2 separate regions of the Homo sapiens genome follow, and region 2 is linked to region 1. Evidence: promoter capture Hi-C in 16 types of primary human blood cells and fetal thymus (Javierre and others, 2016). All regions are on one chromosome and are shown on one strand. The core of a region is centred on a gene start or on the middle of the fragment in contact, and the rest is flanking DNA. Distances in the headings are between cores, read along the strand shown.

Region 1 (3,224 bases), core at 350-2,849:
TGCGGTGTGATTTTGGGCAAAAGAGAGGCCAGATGTCTCTAAACAAGCCCCCAGCCCCAGAACCATGAAAAAGTAGGTACCATAAAAGTAGGAACTCTGGACACGAACTCTTTTGAAAGAAAGCAGCTTTCATCTCTTACCCTGAGGATATGACATTTACCAATACCGAGGGGCCCGTCCTGCAGTAAGATGAATGGAGTTTAGATAAGAAAAGAGACTTCCCAACCAGGAGCACGTTGAGACCTGTAGTGGGTGACTAAGGGTGACTAGGGGTAAAGGAGTGGGCTGGTGGCAGGCAGGGAGCCTGTGTTCTGGCTGCACGACCTCAGGCAAGTGCATTCTTCTGAGCCTCAGTTTCCCACCTAGGCTTTGTCCTCCCAGGTCCCTGCAGGGAGCAGATGGGCAGCTCCTGGGTGTGTTAGTGCCAGTGCTGGGGCCCCCGGATATTATCCCTCCACCCCCACCACCAGGGCAGGACCCCCTTGGTGACTCACCACCCAGTGGTCCATGGCAGGGGTAACCCAGCCACAGGTGCCGGTGATCCTCGGCTCTCTCCCTTCCCCCAGGGTCTGGCCAGCTGAGGATGCCCCTTGGTTTGGGGGAGGTTTGCAGGGAGGTCAGTGGGAGGGCAAAGGGAGTCCCTGATGCCTTCCCCGGGGCCACATGTGAGGCTCAGGCCTGGGCCTGGGAGGGTTTGTCCAGGTGTAGTCTCTTTTATCCTCTTTGCTGGTAGAGACCTCTGGCCTGGGCCCAACCTGTTGAAGAGAGGGCGTTGCACAATAGGGAGGTAAAAGGTGACGGCAGACCTGGCGGGACAGAAGCCCCATTGTTTGGGTCCCAGGCCAGCCTGGGCAAAGAAAGGTTTATGCCTGCGGCAGGAAGGAGGGCCTCTGCAGGGGGTGCCAGCTGGTAGGGCCCTTGCCTTTGGACCCTTGGAGGGGGACAGGTGCCAAGCAGGATGCCCTTGGGTTTGCTAGAGAGGGCAGTGCTCGTCTAGGGGCCCAAGCAGGCAAGGGAAGGCAGACTCAACAAGGGATCAAAGGGTGCAGAGGCCACCCCCACACCCTGCCCACCTCCCAGGGATGAGCCGCCCAGGGCACCTAAGGATCATACTCCTGGAATTCCAATCATTCCTAGGAGCTGGGGTGGCTAGGGGGGCGGCACCCAAGCCTAGGGGGCACAGTGGAGAGGGGTGTGCATGGCTATTTTTATTACCGAGGGGTCAGGAGAGGCTTACAGAATTTTGCCTCACATGCCCTCCCCATCATTTCCCAAACTTGTGTCCATAACCCAGAGCTCGGCTGCCCATATCCCCCCTTCTCCACCAGAGCCCCTCAGCTCCACAGGGATGCCCACTGTGAAGTCCTTCCCAGTGTGAAACCGCAATCCTTCCTGCTTGGGGTTCCCCTAAGGGAACGGCTTCCGCCACAGGAGACCCAGCCAGGACAATCGTGTGCTTGTCGTTTCTCCACCCTGCAAGCCCATGAGTTGTGGGGTAGTTACTCCAGGTACAAGCCAGGCGCCCCTCCCTTCCGCCACTGCTGGGGCGGTGCAGAGGGCGGGCGGTACAAAAAGCGCCCCGCCCCGCGCTCCTCTCTTGACTTTGAGCGTCCGGCGGTCGCAGAGCCAGGAGGCGGAGGCGCGCGGGCCAGCCTGGGCCCCAGCCCACACCTTCACCAGGTAGGGACGCTCCCCTGCTCAGAGGGCGGAAGGTGTAGACAGAGAAGAAACAGGGGGAGGGGGCAGGTAGAGGAACCAAGACAGATGGCAGAGAGAGGGACAGTGGAGGGGGACAGAGGGACACAGGAACAGAAGAGAGGTGTACCCAAAAGACCGGGGGAGACAGGAAAGCACAAAGTCAAGGACCCAGGTCAGGGATGGAGGCTGCTGGAGGGCAGAGAGACCTAGGACAGGAGAGAAGACCTTGGGTCCACAGGATGAGTGTTGGGTGGGAGCACCAAGAATGCCACCACCCTCATTTCCTTGTCCTTGAAGGTCCCTGCCTAGGTCAGGGAGGGGCTCCGTTTCTGCCCAGTCCCCATCCCCCTATAGCCAGGGCCCACACACTGGGGCTCCTCTGCCCGTGTCCTGCCTGGGGACTCAGGAATCGGGATCTCCCTCCCTGCTGGGCCCTCTTGAACTCACAGCTCCAGGAAACTGGGAGACTCATCCCTGGTGTTCCAGGGAGTCTCTGCTGCCCACCATCTCTGCCCCCCAGGGCCCAGGAGCCACCATGTGGCGATGTCCACTGGGGCTACTGCTGTTGCTGCCGCTGGCTGGCCACTTGGCTCTGGGTGCCCAGCAGGGTCGTGGGCGCCGGGAGCTAGCACCGGGTCTGCACCTGCGGGGCATCCGGGACGCGGGAGGCCGGTACTGCCAGGAGCAGGACCTGTGCTGCCGCGGCCGTGCCGACGACTGTGCCCTGCCCTACCTGGGCGCCATCTGTTACTGTGACCTCTTCTGCAACCGCACGGTCTCCGACTGCTGCCCTGACTTCTGGGACTTCTGCCTCGGCGTGCCACCCCCTTTTCCCCCGATCCAAGGTGGGCACTAAGATGGCCAGGAGGGTGGGTCACTTTGTCCACCTCAGACTCAGCAAGGCTCAAGAGCAAAGCTGATGGATGCACTGACATTTCCAGGGGAAGCTCTGTAGAATCTGGGACTCTTCCCTGCCCCTCTGGGAACTTTACTCTCCAGCAAGACTGAAGAAGCTCCTTGGTTAGAATTCTAATTTGGCCCAGGGAAAGGGCAACCTCCCACATTTTCTCCCAATCCTGTCTCTTTTCCAGACACGGAAGGTGCTGGCCGCACCTGCTGACTCACTCTTGGGCTGATAAGGCACATATGGGTTGGTGAGGGTCATCTTAGCCATTTTTCTGCCTTTGCTGAGGATTCTAGGATCCTGTGCCCCGAGATGGCTGCTCATACCTGGGAGATGGGTCAAATCTTTTCCTGCTTTCAGCCTCACCATCATCCTTTTCCATGCACTTGCCCCTGTCCAATAGGAGAATCACTTGCGTTCCTTCCCACAGTTCCATGGGGCTTGGGCCGGCAGACTGCATACCTGAGCTGTCATCTCAAGAGTGCTGTGTTATCTTAGGACGGTTGCTTACCTTCTCTGGGCCTTGGCTTCCCCATGCTCCTCCCACTCCCCATCTCCAAGCCCTAACTTATTTAAATGGAAAAGGATCCCAGGAATGTTGTGGCTGGCATCCAAGTAAAGT
Region 2 (3,455 bases), core at 398-2,897, 370 kb before region 1:
TCCTCCCTCCTGGGCCTCCCAAAGTGCAGGGATTACAGGCGTGAGCCACCGCGCCCGGCCAATCCTACCCCTTTTTATAAATGAGGAAACTGAGGCCCAGAGCAGTGGCAGGCTTGCCTAAGGGGACGCAGAACGGCTGACTCCAACCAGTCTGGGGCCAAACCCTTGCTCTTTTCCACCACTTCTTACCAAGGTGCTCTTTGAGATTTGGCCGCCCAGCCTGTTTGCATGCCCCAGCATTTGGGAGTCTCACCCCTTATGGCACTGCTGGAGGTGCCTTCCACCCTGGAGGGGTAATCTTCCTCCTCCTCGGGACAGGTCCTGGACCCCCAATCCCCTGACTGCCATCTGCCTGTCTGCACGCCCTCCTGCTGCGGCCCAGCCCTCTACCTCCGCTGGGCCTGGGGAGCCAGGGAGCATCTGCTCACCTTCTGCATCATTAGCCCTCAGAGACCAGCTTGGAGCTGCTAGGGAGGCCCAGGATGCGACTGATTGGGCCAGCCCTGGTCTTGTCAGGAGGCAGCAGCAGGCTCCTGGCCTCTGTCTCCATGGTAACCCCATCCCCTCATCTCAGTGACCACTGACCCATCCCCACCCCTTCCCCAGCTGGGGGGCTCTGCAAGCCCCTTCTGGGCAGATCCAACCCACTGCACCTCTGAGCTGGCAACTCCATTAGAACAAAGTGCCTGGCAGTGATCTAATTAGCATATATCTACATTAATTTGCATAAATCCTGGGCCAAACGGCCCAGGGTGCTACCAAGGGGAAGTCTAAAAAAAAATCAGGCCGGGGACCAGGCAGGGTGGTTCATTCATCTCTGTATTCCCAGCACTTTGGGAGGCCGAGGTGGGCGGATCACGAGGTCAGGAGATCGAGACCATCCTGGCTAACACGGTGAAACCCCATCTCTACTAAAAACACAAAAAACTAGCCGGGTGTGGTGGTGGGCACCTGTAGTCCCAGCTACTCAGGAGGCTGAGGCAGGAGAATGGTGTGAACCCAGGAGGTGGAGCTTGCAGTGAGCTGAGATTGTGCCACCGCACTCCAGCCTGGGCGACAGAGGAGACTCTGTATAAAAAAAAAAAAAAAAAAATCAGGCTGTGCACAGTGGCTCACCCCTGTAATCCCAGCACTTTGGGAGGCCAAGGTGGGCGGATCACGAGGTCAAGAGATTGAGACCATCCTGGCCAACATGGTGAAATCCTGTCTCTACTAAAAATATAAAAATTAGCTGGGCGTGGTGGTGTGCGCCTGTAGTCCCAGCTACTCGGGAGGCTGAGGCAAGAGAATCATTTGAACCCAGGAGGTGGAGGTTGCAGTGAGCTGAGATCACACCACTGCACTCTAGCCTGGTGACAGAGCGAGATTCCGTCTTAAAAAAAAAAAAAAAAGGCCAGGGGCAGTGGCTCACGCGGGTAATCCCAGCACTTTGGGAAGCCAAGGTGGGCGGACTCCTGAGGTCAGGAGTTCGAGACCAGCCTGGCCAACATGGTGAAACCCATCTCTACAAAAAATACAAAAATTAGACAGGCATGGTGGCTGTAATCCCAGCTACTCGGGAGGCTGAGGCAGGAGAATCACTTGCACCCGGGAGGCAGAGGTTGCAGTAAGCCGAGATTGCGCCACTGCACTCTGGCCTAGGTGACAGAGCGAGATTCCATCTCAAAAAAATAAAAAATAAAATAAAATAAATAAAAAATAATGAAAACACTGTGGATGTCCCTCAGAAGGGGTCACAGTCAATGACAGTGCCTCCACACGATTCAACACAATGCAGCCATTATGATGGAGTGTGGGAAGAGGGCCAAGCTACCACGTTTGAAACGGCGCTGCAGAGCCACTTGAGTAGGACAACGCTGTTTTCACGCATAACAACAAAACAAAGAATCATCAAACTGTTAATTTGTTAACTCTAGGGAATGGGATTATGGGGGCCTTTGAGATTCAGCCAGATATATTTCTGCAAGGTTTTTACATCGAGGAGTAATTTTTTTTTTTTTTTGAGACGGAGTCTTGCTCTGTCACCCAGGCTGGAGTGCAGTGGCACCATCTTGGCTCACTGCAACCTCTGCTTCCCAGGTTCAAGCAATTCTCCTGCCTCAGCCTCCTGAGTAGCTGGGATTACAGGCACCCACCACCACGCCTGGCCAATTTCTGTATTTTTAGTAGAGATGGGGTTTCACTATGTTGGCCAGGCTAGTCTTGAACTCCTGACCTCAAGTGATTAGCCCGCCTCGGCCTTCCAAAATGCTGGGATTACAGGCGTGAGCCACTGCGCTCGGCCTATGAGTAATATTTTTATAAGTGAACAAACACATTCAAAGACAAAACTGATGGCGACAAATGAGCACACCCCCATGAGTCTGCCTGAGACTGTGGGTGACCCTGAGCTGAGGATGACCAACTGTCCCAGTGTGCCTGAGACCATGGGGTTTCTTAGAGCACAGCACTTTCAGGGACAAGTTCCAAAAGTCCTGGGCAAACTGGGACAAGCTGGTCACATGATATGGAGAGGGTATGGACAGCTTGGAGGCCTGGGGTGGCTCTGGATGAATGAAATGAGGGGTGGCAGGGTGGGGAAGAGATGTGGCTGGACCTTGGACCCAGGGCTTTATTCTGCTGGTCCCTAGGAGGCAGGGAAGGTCTGAGCATAGAGACATGGAAGCTGGGTGCTTTGGGTGCAGTGCTGTCTGGCTACAGGAGGAGGATGGACTGGAAGTGGGAGACCAGGAGGAGATGCTGAGGCCTTTCTTGGCAAGCTGAGACAGGGCCCAGAATCCTCCATGCCTGAGGTCCCACTCTCCCAGGACTCCCATCTTCTTGTCAATTCCTACTCTACTTCTGCCCATGTTCCCACGTCTAAACTACTGAGGCATCCCCAGTCCCATCTCCCAGATGCCGGGACCCCGGCAAGCTCTGGAGTGGGCAGCCAAGGCCTGGAAAGAAGGTGCCCTCCAAAGAGGAGCACTTAAGACAGGGGTGAAGGGGAAGACAATCCAGGAAGGGCAAGCTCAGCAAAAACAAGGCTCTCCCAGGAGACGCCGGCTGCAGATAAATGAACATTTGGATAAATAAAATGGTGATTAATCAGATTCCCCAACTAAGTACAATGAAGAACACCACATAATTAAGCCAAAAACTCATGGCAGAAAGCACCTTAATGAAGCGGGCACTTAGGTAGAGAGAATTAATTAAGGCAGTGTTCGGAATTTCAGGAGTGGCTAGAGGGATGGAAGTGATGGGGGGAAGGCCAGAATGAAAACAAGCAGGAGGTAACATCTACCCAGGATGGGACTGAGGCTGCTGGAGAGCCCGGTAATTATCAGCTCAGGCTCTGCACTCGGGCAGGCCTGGAAGTGAGTCTCAGCTCTCACAAGTTGTAGGATCTGGGAAAGCCACCTCCTAATGCCTCGGTTTCCTCAACTGTAAAATGGGAACAATAATATCTACTTCCT

Evidence for each region. Contacts are between HindIII fragments. The CHiCAGO score rates a contact against its expected background, and 5 or more counts as called.
Region 2: a contact is called between a fragment that was not itself captured here and the fragment with the promoter of TINAGL1 in region 1, in 1 of 17 cell types (M0 macrophages). The highest score is 5.1, in M0 macrophages.

What each region holds. Positions count from the first base shown.
Region 1 is chr1:31,574,916-31,578,139 of GRCh38, forward strand. It overlaps TINAGL1 (tubulointerstitial nephritis antigen like 1), which reads left to right and starts at 1,600. Exons shown (of 12, transcript NM_022164.3): 1 at 1,600-1,680; 2 at 2,219-2,543. The coding sequence starts at 2,234. It overlaps LOC105378626 (a long non-coding RNA gene), which reads right to left and starts at 2,982. Exons shown (of 6, transcript NR_188671.1): 1 at 2,929-2,982; 2 at 495-755. RefSeq lists an enhancer at 1,411-2,131. The HindIII fragment of the contact is 15,245 bases long and covers 1-3,224 here.
Region 2 is chr1:31,201,601-31,205,055 of GRCh38, forward strand. All of the region lies in intron 1 of NKAIN1 (sodium/potassium transporting ATPase interacting 1), which reads right to left. Among named protein-coding and RNA genes, the nearest start is that of NKAIN1, 37 kb to the right of the region's middle. The HindIII fragment of the contact is 8,220 bases long and covers 1-3,455 here.